Regions from separate parts of the Homo sapiens genome. Here regions 1, 2 and 3 are each linked to region 4. The links are contacts of gene promoters, found by promoter capture Hi-C in blood cells and fetal thymus (Javierre and others, 2016). All regions are on one chromosome and are shown on one strand. The core of a region is centred on a gene start or on the middle of the fragment in contact, and the rest is flanking DNA. Distances in the headings are between cores, read along the strand shown.

Region 1 (3,245 bases), core at 7-2,506, 1.6 Mb after region 4:
TTATTTTAAGCCTTTGACATATTTGACAGCCTTCCCAAAATCAAATTTCAAATTGTCTTTTTTTGTTGTTACCTCAAACTAACTTTGGGATGCTACAGAGGGCCCCTGCAGCATCCAAAAGACAGAGAAACAGGATTATTTGCTATGTTAAGTTTATAAGCAAGTAAAATCCTAGAGTATCATGCCTTCAAGGAGATTCATGAAAAGGATGGAAAGGACCCTGACAAGCACTCTTGAATGCGAAGTTTCTGATGTCTTTAGGATCATATCGTTTAGACTGGGTATGAATTACCAGCACTCTAATGAACACACTGACTGGCTTATGAAACTGATAATCCAATTAGGATAAAAATTAATTGAATACCAAGGAACTACTCTGCCAGATCTTCAAGCTAAGTCAGCCAGTACTGAAATTGTTTTGATATGTAGTTTAGATGAATTCCATGATCCAAGTCAAATTTACCTATGATAACCCATCTAATAAACAGTGCTATGCACGTGAATTGGAGAAACAAAACTGATATTTAAGAAGACATAAATCTTCCATTTTGCAGCTATCACTGAAGCAGCAATCGCCAAAATGAAGTTCAATCCCTTTGCGACTTCCAACCGAAACAAGAACCACAAAAGGCATTTCAATGCACCTTCCCACATTTACAGGAAGACTATGTCTTCCCCTCTTTCCAAAGAGCTGAGACAGAAGTACAACGTGTGATCCATGCCCATCCAAAAGGATGATGAAGTTCAGGTTGTACGAGGACACTATAAAGGTTAGCCAATTGGCAGAGTAGTCCAGGTTTACAGGAAGAAATATGTCCTCTACATCGAACGGGTGCAGTGGGAAAAGGCTAATGGCACAACTGTCCATGTAGGCATTCACCCCAGCAAGGTGGTTATCACTAGGCTAAAACTGGACATAGACCGCAAAAAGATTCTTGAACAGAAAGCCAAATCTCGCCAAGTAGGAAAAGGGCAAATACAAGGAAGAAACAATTGAGAAGATGCAGGAATAAAGTAATCTTATATACAAGCTTTAAAACTTGAAATGAAAAACAAAAGGAAGATATAAATCTAATGTTAAGGATGGACTCATGGAGCCTGGACAGATGCCTGGTCCTTCCTGAATCCTTAAAGCTTCCATTACTAAAAGCTCTACACTCCAAGGCCCATCATGGAAGAGGTAAGATGATCCAAATAGAATATTGGCATGTTCTAAATTGCTAAAATAGTTTATGTCCAATGTTTGGTTTGTCAAATCTACAATCCTGGGAAGGCAATCAAAACTTCATGTACATTTCTGCTACATTATAGGCCACTGAAACATTTTTAGAGGGATTTCATTCCATTGCCATTTTCAATGCATGTTTTCTGATTGTATAGAAGCTTTTCCATTCAAAAAGTCTCGTGCTGTAACAGTAGACAAAAGGTTATTAGGAAACATGTTTCTCTCATGGGACATACCTGGAAAGATTGCTAGTGATAGAGGTACTTGTTTCATCAGACAAGTTGTAAAACAATGAGATAAGGTATCATAGGTACAATCACATCAGGCAAAGCTAACTGAATTGACTGGATTTCCTTGGTCTAAAGTACTGCGGATTGATGACAGATCCACTTCCATGTGCAAAACGTTAAGTTGATCCCTTATGCAATAGTCACTGAAGGCCTATGCTCCTAATAATAAAACCTCACACATCTTCTCCTCCTAAGCTCTGATATGACTAAGTGCTGCCAGGCTTTAATGCATTATGCCCAAGTCTATTTTCACCAGGTAAAGAAAGCTTTCCATGGTCCACTGAGGACAAACCCTACATGATCTAAAGCCTAGAAACTGACTCTTCTGGAAACATCATCAGGGAAAGACTGCCCCTGCCACTTACACTGCAGCAAAACTTCAGCACCTTGAGCCTTGGGTTTACAATCTCACAGCTGAAATGGGCCCCTCCAGACTCTTCAATCTATACACTTGTTGGAGACCTTAAGGTAAAGCTAACCAGGAAAGTTTCTCCCTAAAAGCAGACAGCATCCTAGATGTGGACAGCTTTCCCAAGATCATGGATCAATACTTTTCTGCTATCATGAGACTCTTATCTCTCAATAGTTCCTTTGCTTGTGCCTCTATGAATAGAACTGCAGAAGGGGTCTCTCCTGTGTACTTGTGGGGTATACTTTTATTTGCGGAGAATTTCATAGTCAACATTAAACATGAACAACCTTATTGTACATCAATTTTAACAAATATAGCATACAAATGGCAAATAGGGGAAACTGTTGCAAGGAGAGGGAGCTCTCTGTATTATTTGTTCAATTTATCTGTAAAATTTATTAAGAAAATAAATCTATTAATTAAAAAAATTATCTGGATGTGATCAGGAAACATCCTGTCTCTTGATATATTTAACATATTAGAGCATCAGCTGATTCAATTTTTAGAGACATTCAGCTTTAGCCAAAGTGGTTGAAACCAGTATATGTATTTATTTCCCAGGTTATTTTAGAGTTTCTACTAATAACCTGACATTTATGCTTTTACAAACCTGTCAAAACTTTCAATTAAGGCAGAAAAATCACAAATGTCTGAAAGGAGTCCACATTACCCAAACACCTTTCATACAATCAGTATGCCTAACAGCTTTTGGCAACATTTTTGAAGTGTCTGGTATCTGGTGATCACAGTGTAGATAGCAAGAATATCTCCATCGTGTCAGATATTAAGGCATAGTAGGACATTATTCTTTACCAAAGTGATAAATTACTTCTAAGTATATTGAATTCAACAACAAAGAATGAATTTGCTCCATTTTTTAATTCGGAAAACAGTTTTTAAAGGCTCGCTTGTTATACCCGTGACTTTAAATTATAGAGTAAGAATGAAAACAAGATTTCTCCTCTCTTCTCCAGTGTCGGAAGTGTTTTCATCAGTGTTTCTCTACTACTATTTTAATGTTGACAGGAATGATGTCATCATGATATGTCTGCCACAGGTATTTTTTTAAATGCATTTTATCAGAGGAGTGGAAACAACTCATCCTAAGCCCTTTTTCATTATTAAAGACAAAACAGAACTATAATATAATCTCTAGGAAAAAAAAAAAAAAAACACTTCAGTAAGTTCCCACAAGTATACCTGAGTCTTTACAGCAACTGCTGCTACAAAACACTCGGAGAGATTGGCAAATTTCCAAACAATTGCTGGACATCACATACTGCATAATATAGGCAATGACTTAGAATTATTTGAAAAA
Region 2 (2,951 bases), core at 328-2,827, 1.8 Mb after region 4:
TTAAAATGTTTTCCTTTCTTTTTTATCTATAATCTCATCCTCTACTTCCTTCCAACTACAATTGACTTTCCTCTACCTCAGTAGGACACAGCTGAGTGGGGTCTGTGAGTCCCTCACCTTCCCTCCTCTACACCTTAGCTACTGTTTCCATTTCTAATTCTTTCGTTCTATAAAAGAAAATACCTTGAATCCCTTTTCTCCTGTGGCCCAATCTCAGATGTTCATCTTCTCACATGTCATATCAGTGCTTCTCAAATGTCAACCTGCATCATAATTACCAAGGGGCCTGCCAGTTCCTGAGCATCAACCACAAAGTGGTGACTCAGTTGATTCTGATGAAGACGGTTCACAGATATACTGCTCAGTTTTTACCTAAGTGATCTTGCCTCTTCCAATAGCCAACAACTCTGAAGTTTATATCTTTAGTCCAAATCTTACTGCTGTGGCCAAGAACCATATACACCAACTGCCGTCTTTCATTAGACATCTCACCAGTACCTTAAACTTAATTCTAAGACCAAACTCATCATTTTATTCTCTATCTCTGCTCCTCCTTCAATATCACATACCTGAAAACATGACATCATTACCCACTTTGTTGTTTATGCCAGATACTTTGGAAACACCCTTGTCACCTACCTTTCCTGCTGAACCCCATACCCTACCCCCACCATACACCCTGAGCCTCGGTCCAGTCAAACACCAAGTGCTTCTGATTCTACTGTGTAATTACAACTCAAATTCATCCCTTCTTTTCCTACTGCCACCATACCCATCCAAGACGATGATTTTTCTATTATAGGTACACAAATAATAACAAGAACTGTCTGAAATACATACTCACATGTTTAAGCAGTCCATTCAGAAACATTTAGCCAAAAGAACTCTCTGTAGTCAATCATATAAATTGTTCAAAAAGTTATTTCAAATTAGTCAATATTTCTTTTGAAAGTCAGTAAATAACTCACAAAAAGAAATCTGCTCATTTCTAGTTATCGATCTACATTACAAGAGTAAATCAACAATACTAATAGAAAAGGCTGCCACGGTACAAGCCATCAAAATTATTTAATATGATTATGCTTGTCCTATGAAATATTAAGATAACTGATATAGTAAGAAAGAGCTGTTATTCTGACTTAATCCACTGGGAGGCTAGGATAGTTAAGTTTTCCCTTTTGTTAATTTTATTTTCTTTCTGTGATTAAATGAGACAAAACCTGTCCAACTTAAAATCAATTAAATACCACATGCGTGAGCTTTACATAAACCTTTTAAAAAGATAAATATGTTCATTAAATGCAAGGTGGCAAATTTTTTACCTTCAAAAACTTTGAGCTAGAGAGAAGAGAGATGATGAGACTATAGTCAGAAATTTCATTTGTTAATTCAGCTTCCACTAGTAAATATACAAGTACTCAAAATCTATAAGCTGTTATCACTATCTTTCTTGAGATCATAAAAATATTACCAAGCTTCAAGAACACAGCCTTTATGGCATGCCATGTGTGAGATTGTTAGACTTTTGGATGCCATTCTGACTACAAAGTAATGAAAAGCATTGTGAGCACTTTTATCACCACCATTAATCACCAGCAGCACAGCATATAAGCAAAAAATATGCCGACTGCTCATTTTTCCATTAAGGGTCAGAATCAGGAGCTAGAAAGCCCCGAGGGGAAGCTTCCTATCAACTCCATTCTTGCATATACTGAGCTAAAAGATGTACCAGATGTCAGAATAACTTATTAAAATGCGCTTCAAACAACAAAGTGGCAAAACACTGTAAACAAGGAAGAAGGTCTTCATTGTTCCTCTAGTGAAAAAAGTCTCCTGAATACAAGATCACAGGACTATAAGAACTTCTATTTATTAATCAATAACTGTACTTCCTTCACCTAGTTTTGAATGCTTAGATTATGTCATATATCACCAGGATTTCATGAACTTCACAATATTTTTATTTCCCAGTATGAACACTTATCCTGCCATCCCCCACAAAAAAACCCGTTAAGTTTAAATTACTTTAGCGAAACTCCTTCCTTCTGATTAAAATTGCAGTATAATAAGCAGTCAGTATATTAGAAACACCACTGAAATTAAGTACTTTTCTGCCAATGAAACATGAGTTGTTTTGAGTAAGCTATAGAATTAATCACGTTATTTCATACCAGCATTTTTTGAAATTACAACAACCTCAATATTATAAAAGGTTAAATTCGATGAAATAGATTAGTAAAGACTAAACACTTGTAGACACACAGATTTCTTTTAGATTTAAATGGGAACTAAATGGATAGTCTACTACACTCAAATGGTTATGATATAATTGCTTCTTGGAATTTTTGTGCTGGTCAATTATACATTTAATTCACATCAATGAAGTGAAAATTACAATGTACTTACAAAAGCTCTATGGAGAAGCTGTCATGTTTCTATGGTGATGAACATTTAAACAAGGTTTTGCCTGGACATCTTGCCCTCCTGTAAGGGATGTAAAAACCACTTCATACACTATGTCTCTACCCATTAGGAAGCCTGGGAAAACTTCTACATTCACAGAACATTTAAAATAAATATCAAGCTATTGTTTTCACTTAACAAAAAGGGTCTCTCAGTAACATTAAAATAAGGTTTGCTCAGCATGGCATCAAGATTGCACCAAACATATACACAGTCATCAGGGGAAGATCGGTAGAAGTACTAATAAAGAACAGAAAATAAAAGCAGGTATTAATTATTTTATTTTAAGCCATGAAAAAACTACAAATAAGCATCTCTAGAGAGTGTCAAACATTTCTCCCTTTGCTCCCAAGTAATCATTAAGAGCATACACGAAAAAGCTTTGGTCTCACGTCAGAGAAAACGGCTTTGTGAAAAGCTTTGTTAAGGTCTATAGTAAAACAGTGAAATGTTTTTTAATATTAATATGCTATGCAGTCTATTTTATA
Region 3 (3,260 bases), core at 761-3,260, 1.9 Mb after region 4:
AGAGCGAGACTCCATCACAAAAAAAAAAAAAAAAAAAAAATATATATATATATATATATATACACACACACACACACACACACACACATATATACATACACATATATATACACATATATATATTCATAGCCAAAACCTAGAAACTACTGAAGTGCCCATCAACAGTAAAATGAAAAATAAATTGTGCTATAGTCACACAACTACTGCACCGAGAATGAATTATAACCACATACAACATGGAGAAATTTCACAAACATTGTACAAGAAACTGGACACAGAAGAGTATATACGGTAAGATTCCATTTACATAAAGTTCAAAACTAAGCAAAAACTAATCTATGATATTAGAAGCCAGGGCAACGTTTACCCTTGGTGGAGGAGAAAGTAATTGGAAGAGGGAAAGGAATCAGTCTCTGGGATCCTAGTAAAATTGTGTTTATTTATTTATTTTTTTATAATGGTAGAGATGGGGATTCACTATGTTGCCCAGGCTGACCAGTCTCAAACTCCTGGTGGATTCAGGAGTACACAGGCGTGTTTAGTATGAAATGATCTGAAGGGTACATGTATGATTACATGAACTTATCTCTGTGTATTTTAGCTTCAATTATAAAAATTACAACTAAATGTGTACCAAATTCCACTAACTCAAATTCCACCAGCTCAGACTTTATATGTCCTCTTTATTCAAAGTATGACTTCCAAAGTGATTCTCAATTTTCAAGATCAGTGAGTACACAAATTAGATAATTCTAAAGCAGAATTTTTTCACCTCAAACCAAGTGTGACTGAATCGTAGACAACTTAGGAGAGGCGTAAATATAAACATAAAAAATTGACATATTTTACAACAGTTATGAAAACACAGATAAACCCAATTACAATACATTCTAGAGCATCATGAAAAGATAAAAACATCAAAGTAGACTTTCCAAGGTCAAGTCCGCTTCCTGACTCCTGCCAACAGCACACATGGAACATGGGCCAAAAAAGAAGCTGCTTCCCTAAGAAGTTGCTTCCATAGCAAAATGGACTTTTGCTGAGGTCCTCACTCCCAAAAATAACCAATATTCTCATCCCAAACGGTAAGGTTTCGAACTCAACCCACGTGGGGGCTGGGGGAGATGAAAGAGGGATGGAAACGTGAGGCGCCAGGAGGGCAGGAGGTGTTGACCGGGACAAGGTAACCGGCCGGGTCCAAACGCGAGAGGCGGGCGGGCTCCGCGCAGCCCGGCCCTTCCCGGACCCGCCGGGCCCACCCAGGCTCTCCGGGACGCCTGCGCATCCACCTGCCTACCTGGCCTGGCGGCGGAGCGCGGGGGCGCGCACTGGCGGGGCCGCCGTCCACACCCCGAGGCGCGAGCCGCACACCCGCCCAGAGAGGAAGCCCCTGGGGTCCCAGAGCGCGGCGCGCACCGCAGCCCTCCCCGCGGGAAGGGAAGGGCAGCACCGAGGCCGCGGGGCGGGGGCGGGGTCGGGGCTCGAACGGAGGGAGCGCGAGGGGGCAGGGGAGGCAAGAGCGGAGCGGGGGGGCAGGCAGAGGAAGCGAAGGGGAGGGGAGGGGAGAGGAGAGGTGGGGAGGGAAGGGGAGGGGAGGGGAGAGGAGGGGTGGGGAGGGAGAGCGGCAGAGGCCGGGGCGGGAGGCGCGAGGCGAGGCCCGGAGGTGAGGGGTCCGGGGACCGGGGGCCCGGGGGCGGGGACGGAGGGCCCGGGCGGGCACGCGGGACTGTCAGGGCTGCCTCGGTCCCCACGCACCGTGGACTCCCGCACTTGGCTGTGGAAGTGCTGCTCCCGCGCCGACACCTCGTCCTGCCCTTCCATCCTCCTTCATGCCCGCCGCCGCGCCGCCCGCGTCCGCGTGCTCCGCCACACCATCGTCCGCCCGCCGCAGGGGCTCGGACAGCCGCGCCGGGGACCGGAGCCGGCACGGGCCCGCGAGCCGTGTTGGAACAGGTACCGCGACCACGACACCGGCCGTCGCCTCAGCAGCCTCAGACGAGCAGCTCTGACTAAGGGAGGGCGGGCGCCGCGCAGTCGGGGGCGGGGCGGGGGCGGGGCAGGGAGGGGAGGGGGCGGTGCAGGCATACGTCAGACGAAAGGCGCCGATGCGTCAGAAAAGCGCGCCTCGCGGTCTTCCGAGCTGCTGGGCCGGGAGGCGCTGAGGGGGCGGGGCCTTGAGGTCGCGGGGCGGGGCTCCGCCCACGCTCTCAGGGGCTACCCCAGTTAAGGAGGCGCTGTCCTGGCGTCGGATGGGGACGGGGAACGCGGCGAGGGCGCTGCGACCTCTGCCCACCTGGCCCGGCCGCAGTCTCGGAGTTCCTGTTCCTCACAGGAGCTAATTATTTATGACAGCTGCATGGTTCCCCTCCCCCAGTTACTCAGTGCTTGGCACTCGGCACCCCTTACTCAGCACTCAGTACCGCACTCGGCCTCAGGGGACCTGGGCAGAGGGAAGCAGGGAGTCTCCCGCGGAAACTCTTGCTCTGCCAAAGTAGGTTGAAAGGTCGGAAATCGGTGGTTTGGGGCCGGGCTTTGGGCGGAAACCCAGCTTCTCTGGGTCTGAGAAGGGTCTTGGGCTGCCCCACCTGGAAAACGCAGATAACCGAGCTCGCTAGACCCTTGCCAAGTCCTTCCGGTAGCTCGGTCACTAGGGTCAGTTTTATGACTCTCAGTGGACCCTAAACAGCACGTAATATATGTATTTTTCACCGCCAAATATATCAAACACAATAATTCACCCTCCGTTCCCTATTATCTTTCTTTTTGTTATAAAATTTGAATTTAAGGGAATGTTTATAATTTTACCTTAGGATTTATTTGGCTACGAGGAAGTCATTTAAATTGCTAGTGGCTGCGATTTTTGTTTTTGGCATCTTTGAGAATTCTTAGGAAGTGTGAAAATCTACAAATTGCTTTCAAATGTCATTTAGTTTTTGTTTTTGTTTTTTTTTTTTTTGAGACAGAGTTTCACTCTTGTCGCCCAGGCTGGAGTGCAATGGCGATCTCTGCTCACAACAACCTCTGCCTCTTGGGTTCAAGTGATTCTCCTGCCTCAGCCTCCCGAGTAGCTGGGATTACAGGCGCCCGCCACCACGCCCAGCTAATTTTTGTATTTTTAGTAGAGACGGGGTTTCACCACGTTGGCCAAGCTGTTCTTGAACTCCTGACCTCAGGTGATCCGCCCACCTCGTCCTCCCAAAGTGCTGGGATTACAGGCCTGAGCCACCGCGCCCGGCCGTTGTTTAGATTTTTATGAATCT
Region 4 (3,252 bases), core at 753-3,252:
AATCAGATGTCCAGGCTCAAAACTTTTCAGAAAATATACTGTTTCAGATGAAAGTGGTTTGCCAAGGACATTTTTAAGCACTTAGATTTGATTCAAAGTCGAGTAAATATGGTTCCAGTTCAACTTGTTCCAGGTTTTAAGTAACATTTGGTTCAAGTCCCCTATAAGAGCCAAAGTCCTAAAATGAAACACGAAGGCTAGGAAGGAGGGGGAAGAGAAAAATGGTGGATAGCAAAAAACAAAAACAAAAAAACAAACAAAAAAAAGAGGGGCGGGGGAATCATCAATACTGGAAAAAGCTAACACTGTTACAGGCACTCATCTTCATCGCTCCGTGTTCAGCAACTGTTTTACTCTGTAAATTCAAAGATAGAAGGCTTTTTTTTTTTTTTTGAGACGGAGTCTAGCTGTTGTTGCCCAGGCTGGAGTGCAGTGGCGCGATCTCGGCTCACTGCAACTTCCACCTCCCAGGTTCCAGCAATTCTCCTGCCTCAGCCTCCCGAGTAGCTGAGACCACAGGCGCCCGCCACCACGCCCGGCTAATTTTTGTATTTTTAGTAGAGATGAGGCTTCACCATGTTGGCCAGGCTGGTCTCGAACTCATGACCTCAGGTGATCCACCCGCCTTGGCCTCCCAAAGTGCTGGGATTACAGGGGTAAACCCGGCCTTGAAGTCTCTTTACCCTAAAGTTACAGGGCAAAAAGGGTCCAAAAAGTTGTTACAAGGACGAACCTCAAGAAGGCCAAGATCACTCAGCCTTCTACAATTCCTTCTACACCATCCAAGTTCATCTGCGAAATATGAGTCTCCGCCCTTCCAGGCCTAACTCTGATCACTGGGGATCCCCATCCTCCAAGGTGGGGGCCACTGATGTCACACCCAAGGCAACACAACTGTACAGCTAAACTTTTAAGAAGGAAATATTTTGAAGATTAACCTGAAGAGGATATTCAACTAAGATGCATTCCTACCACGGACTGATAACTGTGTGACATCAAACAGATATATTATTATAGGAATACTAAGGAAAACCCACAATATCCTTTGGCGTGAGCCCAAACTACACAAAATTAAATGTGTAATGTGATGGTGTTACCAGGGTACCGTAAAATTAATCGTCCAAGTGGGAAAATCAAGGAAGACGAATGCCAGCCCCCACGTGCAGGGACACAGGCTGGAAGGGAGCGCTCCTCAGCCCCGCACAGGACGGCAGCTGCCCGGGTGGCGGAGGCGGCCAAGCCGGTGCACGGCCACGACCCCCGCCGGCCGAGCGAGGCTGGGGTCCCCGCGCGAGCTGCCCCGGCTGGGGATCCCGGCGCCCCTCGTCCGCCCTCGGAGCTGCTCTCCCGGGAGCCGAGACGCCCGGCGCGGGGAATGGGGAGACGCGACCCCGCGCCCGTCCCGCTCAGCAAAGGAGCAGAGAACGAGGCGGCCCGGTGGGTCGGGGGCGGCGACCCCAGGGCCGCAGGCCGGGGGCTCAGGGCGCGCACTAGGGGCCGAGGTACAGAGCCCCAGCCGCCTTCCCTCCCGCACTCCCCCGGGCCCGGGCCTCCCGCGCCCACCCCGCGGTCGCCCCTGCCCTCAGCGCAGTCAGGCCAGCGGCCTCGGCGGACCCGACGCTCTGCGCCCGGCGCGCGCCCGCGGCAGGAGCGGGGACGGGGACGGGGACGGGGACGGACGGGGACGCGGACGGGGGAGGAGGCCGCGGCAGGGGCGGGCGCGGTACCTGCGGGTCGATGTCGCCCACCGCGTAATACTTGACCTCCCTGAACATCTCCTCAGGAACTTTGGGCGCCTGGTCCGACATGATCGCGGCGGCCCGGGAGGCTCCGCGGCGGCGCCCGGCCCCGCCCACCCCCCGCCCCCGGCCCCCGCGGCGCCCGGCGCCCCCACTCGCCCCGCCAACGGCCCTGCCCGCGCAGCCCGGGCCCGGTCCTGCGAATCGGGGTCCGCTCCCCCGCCCTCCGCGCCCCCGCCCGCGCCCGCGCCGAGCGCCCGAAGCGCGGGAGCCGCGCGCGCCCTGCGGGACGCACCATCCCGCCCCGGCCACCGAGGGGGAGCGCCGAGGAGCCGCCCGGCCTCCAGTGACGCCCCGCGCCTCTGCCGCCAGCCACGGCTCCGGGGTAGCTGGCGCCGGCAGCCCGCTCTGGCCCTTGCGGTTCCGTGGCCGCCGCTCTGCAACGAGGGGGCCCCGAGGACGAGGGGAAACCAGCTCCCCCCTCGGCGGGGCCGGAGTGAGCCGGTCCCGGGGAGGAGGGGAGCTGGCAGGCCCCTCCCGTCGCCACATGCGGCTGCTCGGGGGCGGCGCATGCGCGCGGCGGAGGGGGGGGTGGGGCCTTGGGGCCGCGAGTGGGAGCGGGAGCGGTTCTGCGGCCTCCTCGGGCTTCTTGGCCCTGGGCGGAGTGGGATTGGGTGTCCCGGCTGTTCGCAGTGGCCGCGAGTGCGGCCGGACCTGGAGTAGTACCTGAGCCGCTCTGGCCGAGCAAGGCGCGGGGCCCCGGTCTACACCGCGCTGGACCCGGCTATGCCGTGACGGAATTCCCGAGGCCGTAGCGCCACGCGAGACGCGCACTGGTGGCCTCCGCGGCGAGTCCTGGGGTCTCCGCAAGGCCTCAGTGCCCGAGCTGGGGACGTGCTGGGGGGAGGCCCGGCCCCGTCGCTGCCCGAGGCCCCGCTGTCCCGGCCGGACCGGCCTGGTCCCTGGCGTCCTGTCGGGTCCGCGCTGGAGGAGAGTCCCAGACAGCAGAGCCCGCGGTGCAGCTCCAGCCCCGGGAAGCCCCGCGCTCAACAGGTTAATACTACACAGCGGCGATTCTAATGGTCACGCTTTTATTTACAGCTCGCCTCCCTTCCGCCAAGATTCACAGAACACGGCAGAGTGGCCTCGGGATCACCTGCCCAAGACACCTGCACGACCGGAAGTTGGGAGAAGAAATTAAGGCCATGATGATGAACGCAGCCTTTCTCGTTTATTTCCAATCCCACAACAAACCGGAGTCCAGGAACTCATGGGTGATTATCGGACTATTACCTAGTCGTAAAACTGTGGAGCATTGGTGTCTAAAGGAATCTGAGACAGACCCGCAGTGTCTCCCCCACATGCCTTAAGTCACTTCTGCCAAGCAGAAAATCATTTTTAAGTAAATGTTAGTGAAATTGGTTTTAAAAAAGAGAAGGGGCCGGGCGCGGTGGCTCACGCCTGTAATCCTATCCTTTAGGAGGCCGAGGTGGGCGGATTGCCTGAGTTCAGG

What was found. The method cuts DNA at HindIII sites, captures the fragments that hold promoters and counts their contacts. A CHiCAGO score of 5 or more calls a contact.
Region 1: a contact is called between a fragment that was not itself captured here and the fragment with the promoter of PAXIP1 in region 4, in 1 of 17 cell types (monocytes). The highest score is 7.4, in monocytes.
Region 2: a contact is called between a fragment that was not itself captured here and the fragment with the promoter of PAXIP1 in region 4, in 1 of 17 cell types (total B cells). The highest score is 5.1, in total B cells.
Region 3: a contact is called between the fragment with the promoter of LMBR1 here and the fragment with the promoter of PAXIP1 in region 4, in 1 of 17 cell types (neutrophils). The highest score is 5.8, in neutrophils.

What each region holds. Positions count from the first base shown.
Region 1 is chr7:156,632,775-156,636,019 of GRCh38, forward strand. All of the region lies in intron 1 of RNF32-DT (RNF32 divergent transcript), which reads right to left. It also overlaps the pseudogene RPL26P23. Among named protein-coding and RNA genes, the nearest start is that of RNF32-DT, 6.1 kb to the right of the region's middle. The HindIII fragment of the contact is 249 bases long and covers 1,133-1,381 here.
Region 2 is chr7:156,777,249-156,780,199 of GRCh38, forward strand. The region is part of intron 5 of LMBR1 (limb development membrane protein 1); the gene reads right to left. Among named protein-coding and RNA genes, the nearest start is that of LMBR1, 110 kb to the right of the region's middle. The HindIII fragment of the contact is 208 bases long and covers 1,474-1,681 here.
Region 3 is chr7:156,891,173-156,894,432 of GRCh38, forward strand. It overlaps LMBR1 (limb development membrane protein 1), which reads right to left and starts at 2,011. Exons shown (of 17, transcript NM_022458.4): 1 at 1,756-2,011. The coding sequence starts at 1,821. LOC102723795 (a long non-coding RNA gene) reads left to right here and starts at 2,226. Exons shown (of 4, transcript XR_928253.3): 1 at 2,226-2,491. RefSeq lists silencers at 1,103-1,602, 1,653-2,232. The HindIII fragment of the contact is 17,725 bases long and covers 1-3,260 here.
Region 4 is chr7:155,001,122-155,004,373 of GRCh38, forward strand. PAXIP1 (PAX interacting protein 1) reads right to left here and starts at 2,003. Exons shown (of 21, transcript NM_007349.4): 1 at 1,728-2,003. The coding sequence starts at 1,808. PAXIP1-DT (PAXIP1 divergent transcript) reads left to right here and starts at 2,312. Exons shown (of 1, transcript NR_028090.1): 1 at 2,312-3,252. RefSeq lists silencers at 1,144-1,293, 1,464-1,833, 1,864-2,553, 2,574-2,653 and an enhancer at 2,898-3,252. The HindIII fragment of the contact is 20,481 bases long and covers 1-3,252 here.